Regions from separate parts of the Homo sapiens genome. Here region 1 is linked to region 2. The links are contacts of gene promoters, found by promoter capture Hi-C in human tissues and cell types (Jung and others, 2019). All regions are on one chromosome and are shown on one strand. The core of a region is centred on a gene start or on the middle of the fragment in contact, and the rest is flanking DNA. Distances in the headings are between cores, read along the strand shown.

Region 1 (4,533 bases), core at 1,287-3,786, 250 kb after region 2:
AATGGGATCTAATTAAACTAAAGAGCTTCTGCACAGCAAAAGAAACTATCATCAGAGTGAACAGACAACCTACAGAAATGGAGTATATTTTTGCAATCTATCCGTCTGACAAAGTTCTAGTATCCAGAGTCTACAAGAAACTTAAACAAATTTATAAGAAAAAAACAAACAATCCCATTAAAAAGTGGGCAAAGGACTTGAACAGGCACTTCTCAAAAGAAGACATATATGTGGCCAACAAACATATGAAACAAGGCTCAACATCGCTGATCATTAGAGAAACGAAAATCAAAACCACAATGAGATACCATCTCATACCAGTCAGAATGGTGATTATTAAAAAGTAAAAAAAAAAACAAAAAACACAGATGCTGGAGAGGTTGTAGAGAAAAAGGAACACTTTTACACTGTTAGTGGGCGTGTAAATTAGTTCAACTATTGTGGAAAACAGTGTGGAGATTCCTCAAAGATCTAGAGGCAGAAATACCATCTGACCCAATAATCCCATTACTGGGTATATACCCAAAGGAACATAAATCATTCTATTATAAAGACACATGCATGCATATGTTCATTGCAGCACTATTCACAATAGCAAAGACATGAATCAATCCAAATGCCCATCAATGATAGACTGGATAAAGAAAATGTGATACTGAAATATATATATATACACACACACACCATGGAATTCTATGCAGCCATAAAAAGAAATGAGATCATGTCCTTTGCAGGGATATGGATGGAGCTCGAAGCAGTTATCCTCAGCAAACTAACACAGGAGCAGAAAACCAAACACTGCATGTTCTCACTTACAAGTGGTAGCTGAATGATGAGAACACATGGACACATAAGTGGAACAACACACACTGGAGCATATCATGGGGGTGGTAGGGAGAGGGAGAACATCAAGAAGAATACCTGGTGAATGCTGGGCTTAATACCTAGGTGTAGGGATGATCTGTGCAGCAAATCACCATGGCACACATGGTTTATGTATGTAACAAACCTGCACATCCTGCACATGTACCGCTGAAATTAAAATAAAAGTTGAAGATTTTTTTAAAAGATAGCATTTACAATAATATTAAAAATATAAATAAGATTGTAACACCTGCATGAGAAATGTCATAAACCTTTCTTTAAAATATTAATGAAGGTCAAAATAGATGGAAATATATATATCAAAGACAATATTATAAGGATATCATTCTTTTCCAATTGATTTGTAGATCCAGTGCAATTCAAATGAATATCCAAAATAGGTGTTTTGTTTTTGTTTTTGTTTTTGTTTTCGTTTTCGGTCAGAGTCTTGCTCTGTCACCCAGGCTGGAGTGCAATGGCACAGTCTCAGCTCACTACAACCTCTGCCTCCCAGTTCAAGCAATTCTCATGCCGCAGCCTCCCAAGTAGCTGAGATTACAGGAACTCACCACCATAACCAGCTAATTTTTGTATTTTTAGTAGAGACGGGGTTTTGCCATGTTGACCAGGCTGGTCTCCAACTCCTGACCTCATGGGATTCACCCACCTCAGCCTCCCAAAGTGCTGGGATTACAGGCATGAGCCACCACGCCTGGCCCGAAACAGGTCTTTTGAATAACTTGATAAACTGACTAAAATTTATATGAAAATACAAAATCCTAAGATAAACAAAGTTCAAGAGATTAAGTGTGGCTTTGGAGTGGGGGTATACAGTGGAGTGAAATAAAGGGCTCAGAAGCAATCCCACATAATTAAGCAAAATTATTTTGCAGTTAAATAGAAGAGGAACTCATTAATAAATAGGTCTGGAACCACTGAAAAATGAAAAAGGATCCTTATGTTATACCTTACCAAAAAATCAACATCAGGTGGTTTTAGGGTGTAAAGGTAAGCCAAAACTTCAAAACTTTTAGGAGAAAACAGATCCAAGATGTCCTCATGTTCCTAGATAACATAGTGTAGTGTGACTAAGAACAAAAACTCTGAAGCCAAGTTCAAATCTTGTCTCTACCACATAATAAATGAGTGACCTTGTACATGTAACCTAATCTCTGTCTCCATTTCATCCTTAAATGATGGTAATAACTGTACTTACTTCATAGGGTGTATATGATGATAAAGTATATACAAATTACTTAAAAATAGCACCTGGAATTAAGTAGTACTCTAGGTTATAACTAACCCTGTTACTATTATTATAGTGCTATTGCACTCTTTCTCTTGTGCCATGATTAGTTTCTTCTGTGCATAAAAGGTCAAAAAGAGAAAGGAAGAAATCCCTTTTTAATTCCTCACTCTGATGATTCTACCCTTCATGATTAAATATATGCAGAAGCTCTGATCCTTAAGTTTCTATTGCTTCTAGATGAACATGGGACTCACTATCAAGGGTCTAATCAGTTTGGGGCCTTCAGCTTCATGGCTGGGTACCCAAGCACTCACTGTTCAACTCAACACCTAGTAATGTCCAGTCCTGGCCCTTGGGGTAGGTGAGCTCAACCGTCTCAAGTATCAAGCCCAAAATATAACATCAGGTGATACCACAACTATCCTGCCTGCTGCTTGCTGCACCATGAAGTCTGCCAAGCTGGGATTTCTTCTAAGATTCTTCATCTTCTGCTCATTGAATACCCTGTTATTGGGTGGTGTTAATAAAATTGCGGAGAAGATATGTGGAGACCTCAAAGGTATGAAGCTAAGGCAGAAAATAAATCCAAAGGTCAATTATGAATGAGAGAGAAGGTATTGGGAGAAAAGTGTGTTATCTAGGTAGTCCAGGAAGGTCTTCCTTTCATGACAATACCCATAGACACTTAGTCCCTTGACTCAGGGCATTACTTACACTAGGGGTCCTCTGGATGTTTGATGAGAAAAAACAGAAATGACACAAAGTCCTTTCCAGATGGAGACCTCTTTTATAGGAGGTCCAAAGGACTGGAAGTATTTTGAATCAGAGGTTGTGTGACAAATTTCAAAGATCCCAGACCATTGATGATTATGTATTGGGATGAGAGAGAAAGGGGGTTGGAGACAGAGCAAATTAAGACATTTTCAGTATCTGGGCTATGGACATATACAGAACTCTTGGACAGATGATTCCTGTTTAGAGGAGCTCACAATGTAAATGTGAGAGGCAATGAGACTTTCTTCCATAGATAGTGTGTGAAGGCTCAGCGCTTCCAGGGGACGAGAAAGTAGCACAGTTTATACCGTAAGTCAGACACTTCAAGTTCTGGACCTGTTCACTTAGCAGATATGTGCCCTTGGACAAGTCACTCAACCACTTATTATTCTCTTAGTCTCAGTTTCCCCATGTGTAAAATGAAGATCAGAAAAGTGCCTGCTGCAGAGGGTGTTTGTGAGTATGAAATAAGATTATGCACATAACTTTACCAGAGAGTAAATTCCAGGCTGGCTGCTTGAGTAAGGTGGATTGTCAATACAACCATGATTGTGGCTGTTCCAACCACTTACTACCCAACTCTTAACAATAAAAACAGAGGGTTTGCCTCTGAGAAGGCAAGAAAGGAGAAGATGACGGGGTATGAGGATGAACGAGCATCACCCCAAGGTTATGCATTTTAGCATTTTAGTATGCATCCTGCTTTAAAGATAGCAGCAGCCATGGTTACTTAAATTTTGAAGTATAGGTAGTATAGTGAATGTATGAAACTGGGGAGGAGGCACTCTGAATTGCATGTCCTATGTGGGCAATTAAAAGGAAAGGAAGATGATGTGGGGAAGCAGGAGGATACTGTACTTTAATAAACTGTAAGATAGGAAATGTAGGGAAGCTCATCGCCCTGCACAAGCTAGTGGTGGAACCTCCTTTTTCACTGATCACTACTTCTCCTTCTCCAATACACTGCTCACGACAACAACCTGGAATTTTAACCAATTTGCATTGTGCAAGGGCAACATTTCCAAGCAACTCTAACTCCAAGAGAAAACCACATCTTTCAGAGTCCTTGAATATGAGAATAGTTCCAGGCTAAACGTAGGAATTTTTAAGGGCCCATAAAGACAAGTTCTCCTGCTGAGTCCTTACCAATTCCCACTAACTCAATGGGAACCTCTCATGCAGATCCCTGCAAATTGGACATGAATTTTGGAAGCTGCTATGAAGTTCACTTTAGATATTTCTACAACAGAACCTCCAAAAGATGTGAAACTTTTGTCTTCTCCGGCTGTAATGGCAACCTTAACAACTTCAAGCTTAAAATAGAACGTGAAGTAGCCTGTGTTGCAAAATACAAACCACCGTAAGGAATCTAATCCTGTCCTTGGTCCTTGGGGGTAGTAAAAGAAGAGGTTTTGACATCCTAAGATAGAGAAAATTGATCAGGGGCTAACCTTGCTTGGAGTGGGAAGAGGGAGGATTGCTCAAATAAGAAGTTTTAACAGTTGGGTTGGCCGGGCGCAGTGGCTCATGCCTGTAACCCCAGCACTTTGGGAGGCTGAGGTGGGTGTATCACCTGAGGTCAGGAGTTCAAGACCAGCCTGACCAACATGGAGAAACCCCATCTTTACTAAAAATACAAAATTAGC
Region 2 (5,286 bases), core at 2,011-4,510:
ATCATCTACGTTAACCTCAGATAGATCTGTGTGAATGTGTATAATATTGAAATAACTGGGACAACACAAGTAATTTGGCAAGAGTCTTCCCTCTGATTTACTGGCTGTGTTTCCTCCAGCAAGTCACTTTGCTTAGCTGAATCTCAGTTTCTTAACGTGTAAAATGGGAGTAATAATACTTAATCCATAAGATTGCTAAATACATATAAGCTATCTTTCACCAAACACTTACTATGTGCCCACTCCAGAGGTCACAAATTTAAATGTCCTCCTGGGGTCAGGTGAGCACTGTGAATGGAACTAGTTGCAGAGAGGGAGGATGGTGGTGGTGGGGATTATGGGAAACTGGAGGGAATGCTTCCCTCATAGAAAAAGAGTAGCTGTACTTAGGTTCTGGTTTTCAAAGTATGGTCCCTAGCCCTGCAGCATTGGCATCACCTGGAAACCTGTTAGAAATGCAAATTCTCAGGTTCCAGACCTACTAATCAAAACTCTGGGGATGGGGATCCTGCAATCTGTATTTTAATAAGCCTTCCAAGTGATTCTGATGCATGCTTAGGCTGGGCACTGTGGCTCACACCTGTAATCCCAGCACTTTGAGAGGCCAAGGCGGGCAGATCACCTGAGGTCAGGAGTTCGAGACCAACCTGGCCAACATGGTGAAACCCCGTCCCTACTAAAAATACAAAAATTAGCCGGGTGTAGTGGCGCCTGTAATCGCAGCTACTTGGGAGACTGAGGCAGGAGAATCGCTTGAACCCAGGAGGCAGGGGAAGGGAAGGGAAGGGGAGGAGATGGGAGGGGAGGGGAGGGGAGGGAAGCCTGGGGGACAGAGCAAAACTCAGTCTCAAAAAAACAAAAACAACAAAAAAAATGATTCTGACGCATGCTCAATTTTGAGACCTGCTGCTCTAGCTGATGGTTGTTATATCTAAGATTGCAGGACTGTGTTGCCAGATCTTTTACTTTTTCCAAGAGAAGCTAGAGGTTTATTTTTATATGAAATTCGCTACTTTTAAATCTTGGCAACTAATTTAAAAATTTAAAACATACTGTGTAGTTAATAATGTATGTGCTCTAGCCAGATTTGCAACCTCTGATTTATGCTTTTTCCTTTAACCCTTATAATAATCTTATAAAACCCTTATAATAATCATCCAAGACTGTTAGGATGATACACAGTTTATGCAGGAAGAAGATGCAGGCCCAAAACATGAAGTGTTTCTCTAAGTCACATAGCCAGAAAGTGGCCATGGATGCATTGTCCCTGATTGGGCATGGATGCATTTGGTTCTAAAGCCTCTGCCCTTTTAAATGATGTAAAGAGAATATCTATAACTATACCTAGCACGGAACTTGGCACCACAAAAGCTAAACATCTGATGCCATTGACTGATGAAAATTCCTTCCCCATCCTTCTGCCTGGCCCTGCCACTCTCCCTCAGTCTGTATTCCTGTAAGAGAGAGCCAATCAATAGGGTGCTCATAAGGGCCTGGGAGGAGCAAGGCTGGGCAGTTTCCTGGCCCAGGGAGCTGAATAGGGCCCGGAAGAAAGCTGTTGGCAGCAGTGCCTGGGGCTGAATGTACAGTAGCCAGCTGGGTCCACGGGCTAAAAACTGGCTGCTCACCCCAGTGTTCTCTTTGTGCCCTAGACTGGGTTTCACTAGCCTGTTATGGGCTGTGTTCCCACCTGGCTCCTGCCCTCATTGTTGACTGAGCTCAGAGTAAATAGCCCTGGCCCCTCCCAATAACGTCCCCAGTCCCCAAGTTGAGCATGAGAAGCTGGGGGAGGTGTTCTCAGCATCCATTTTGGGGACAGTGGCCAGATGTACTCACATCACCAAACCCTACTCACCTGTCACTATCATCCCAGTGTTCACTGCCCCAGGGCCCCTCTAGCCTCCAGCAGCAAAGACCTCCTGGGGCTTCTAGAACCTCAGATCATTGGAGCAGGAAGCACTTCTTGTCTAACTCCCTGGGTAACTCTGTTTTGGCACTTAACCCCCTGGATTCTAAAGCTTCATTTATACTTATTGGTCTCCTTCGTCACAGGAGACACTTATCTGTGGAGCACTCATGGCCATGTATCCAGTACCTATCATGGGTCAGGCCTGGAGTCCCTGTGTCAATCAGTGTGGATCTACTCTCAATGCTCCCAGTGAGTACATGGTTGTTCCGTGGCAGGAACGTTGCATTTGTGTTCTCACTGAAGTCCCATATAGGTGTCATTTTCACTGATGATGTGGCAGCTCAGATCCAGGAAAGGATTCATTCCAGGGCCCTCAGGTGGGAAGTGGTGGAGGTGGGAGTCAGACCCCAGACCCTGTCACCCCTTCAAGACCAGTGCTGGAGGGCCCCTTTTGACGACTTTCTCTTCACCAAGCGTCTTGCCCTGCATATGTCACACAGTAGGCACCCAGTGAATATTTACGACGGAATGGAAAAAACAAGGGCCTGGAGGGAGAGACCTGGGTTCAAAACCTTATTTGTACAGCTTTGCAGGGGACCTTGTGGTGGAGGTGCGGTCCTAAATCCCTAAACACTCAGTTCCTTTGTCATATACAGCTGATAACAGTAACTCCCCGGTCAGAGGACCGGCGACAATTCCTTGAGACAAGGAGCACAGAGCCTGGCACAGTCAGCCCTGATCAGGGGCCGGTAGGACAAAGAGAGGGAGACAGAAACACACACCCAAACGGCTTGAGACTGCTAGGTGCTTCACCTTCCTGGGCCTGTTTCTGATGAGGAGGGTTTGTTTATTAATAATAAGTGCTATTTCTGTAGCCCCTACTATGTGCTCTGTATCACTACCCTAGCCCTCCATCAAGAGGGATCTGCCCTCTCATCTGGCTGACCCCAAATCGAACCCTTTAACCCGCATGCTCTACTGCCTCCCTGCGGGCCCTGCCTTATCCTCCTCAACCGCCCACTGGGGACACTCTGGAGAAACCTCGGAGTCTTGGAATAGAAACCCAGGAGCCCTGAGCCTTGGCCCTCAGGCCCCAGGAGGGAGGTCAGGAGGGAGGCGTGGACAAGGGTCCGGCCGTAGCTGGTCCCGTCCTGGAAGCTGCTTAAGTTCCTGGTTCCCACCGGGGCCAAGAGTGATACCTGATCCTGGGGGATTGTGAAATGACCTCATGTGGCAGCCCGCCCGCGGTGCCCGCAAAGCCCTCCACCCTCCCCTTCCCCGCTCGGCTCCACCCCTACCCCACGCCCCCTCCCGCGCGCGCGGTTAAATCCCCGCACCTGAGCATCGGCTCACACCTGCACCCCGCCCGGGCATAGCACCATGCCTGCTTGTCGCCTAGGCCCGCTAGCCGCCGCCCTCCTCCTCAGCCTGCTGCTGTTCGGCTTCACCCTAGTCTCAGGTGAGTGGGGCGGGGAGAGGCCCGGCGCCTAGAGGGGCCGAGCCACGAGCGCCAGGATGGAGCCAGGCGGAGGCGTAGCCTCTGGAGGCTGGGGAAGTGGGAATTCCGGGGGCGGAAGTGGCGGGGACCCTTGGAGCCTAGGGTGTGGGGTCCAATGTGCTGGAGGTGGAGAGACCACTGATGGCTGCAATTTGGGAGGATTCTGTGCTGAACGCGGACACTCCGTGGCTGCAGTGGGCTGGGGGTGGGGGCTGCTCTGCCTCGACCTCGGAAGCTCCGAGACGCTCAGCTGTGCGGCGTCCCCTAGGGCTGAGATCTGAGGGCCCCGACGCCAAGGGTTAGGGAGCTCTCGTACTCCCAGGGGTCAGGGACTCCTGGTCTGGAAGAAGGAGTCTCTGGGGGCTGTAAGGGGACTCCTAGGGCCAGAGACTGAGAATTCCTTGGGGTTAAGGTTTGGAGCAGGAGGTGGGCATCCTCTGGGGCTGGCGCTACGCCCCACCCTCGACTGTCCCGGGCCTCCCCTCCCAGGCACAGGAGCAGAGAAGACTGGCGTGTGCCCCGAGCTCCAGGCTGACCAGAACTGCACGCAAGAGTGCGTCTCGGACAGCGAATGCGCCGACAACCTCAAGTGCTGCAGCGCGGGCTGTGCCACCTTCTGCTCTCTGCCCAATGGTAACCCCACGGCGGCCGAGCGGGAACGGGGCGGGGCCGCGCTGGGCTGGGAGGAGGTGGGAGGGCCCGGGTTCCGGGAACAGGGGCGCCCCCGGACCCGGGGACCCCCGGGAAAGTCAAGGCGGTTGAAACCAGATCCGTCAGTCCTCTCCCTCGCACGGCCCAGGGGTAGACAAAGGCGTCGTTGAAACGCAGCCAAGGGGGGGTCCCCACCCCTAGCTGGGATTCGAGTCTCTGGTGCATGACGGGCTTCCGGGCACGCACAGCCGGGACATTGTTCCCCGCGGCCTGGGGACCCGGGGCCGCAGTTTCCTTCTCGAACCGGCCGAAGCCTGCCCTGCGGGAAAGCCCGGAGCCTGGGGCGCTCACCTCTCCTCTTGGAGTCCCTCCCTGGGGGCCTCCCCCAGCCCTGGGGAAAGACTGGGAGAGCCTGGCCTGGCAAGATTTTCCCCAATTCCTCTGTCCAGGCGGAAAGGAACTTTACAGATTTAGGAAAATGCCCCGCTCATCTTAAAGATGTGTAAGGGAGCATCGGTGAGAAAAAAATGTTCTTGCCCAAGGTCACACCGCCATCCCATGGCTGCTGGAGTCATAGTGAGGGTTCAGCTTTTGCCTTTCAGGCCAACTGGCTGAGTGATTCGAAGAAAGTGAGGAATCCTCCCTGGACACTGTATCGCCCTTCGTCGTCTTTCAGTCAATCTCTTCCACTCTAAGGATTGAGTGAGCGCGAGCTGGGGACTCTCTCAAAGGTGCTTGCTGGAGCTGCAGTCTCCACCAGGCTATCAGAACAGGGGGTGGCTTAAACAGCATGGAATCTCAGCTTTCCGTTCTCCAGAGGAAAATGCTGAGGATTAGAGGCAGGGATAGGACCTGGAGAGAACCAAGGTACTGTAATGATGTTCTTTATCCAGAATACAGCCCCTGTGACTTTTCCTCTCTGTTATTTCCTTGAAGATGCCAGCACAGGCTGGGAAGGTTTGTAATACGGTGACCCAAGACACCGATCAGCAGGGAGGTGGTAAGTGGAGGGGGACTGGCAGCCCACCAAGGGCAGCTTCAAGGTCATGAGTCCCCTCCTCTGGGCCAGGGAGAGGAGGACCAGAAGGAGAGAGGAAGATTTGGAGAGAAAGCAGGCAGCAGCCAGATGAGAGAGGTGGAGGAGCAAAGGAGGGAGTCTTTGCTGTTTGATGGATGAAGAATTTGTTCCCTTATCTCAGATGGACAGACTGAGGCAGGAAGAGGGACA

What was found. Contacts are between HindIII fragments. The study calls those that stand out against the background at their distance.
Region 1: the fragment with the promoter of SPINT4 here is called in contact with the fragment with the promoter of WFDC2 in region 2 in 2 of the 25 tissues and cell types used here (mesendoderm cells and small bowel).

What each region holds. Positions count from the first base shown.
Region 1 is chr20:45,719,811-45,724,343 of GRCh38, forward strand. It overlaps SPINT4 (serine peptidase inhibitor, Kunitz type 4), which reads left to right and starts at 2,537. Exons shown (of 3, transcript NM_178455.3): 1 at 2,537-2,672; 2 at 4,070-4,247. The coding sequence starts at 2,558. The HindIII fragment of the contact is 7,531 bases long and covers 1-4,533 here.
Region 2 is chr20:45,466,493-45,471,778 of GRCh38, forward strand. WFDC2 (WAP four-disulfide core domain 2) reads left to right here and starts at 3,261. Exons shown (of 4, transcript NM_006103.4): 1 at 3,261-3,368; 2 at 3,897-4,040. The coding sequence starts at 3,290. RefSeq lists silencers at 3,926-4,115, 4,136-4,185. The HindIII fragment of the contact is 12,073 bases long and covers 1-5,286 here.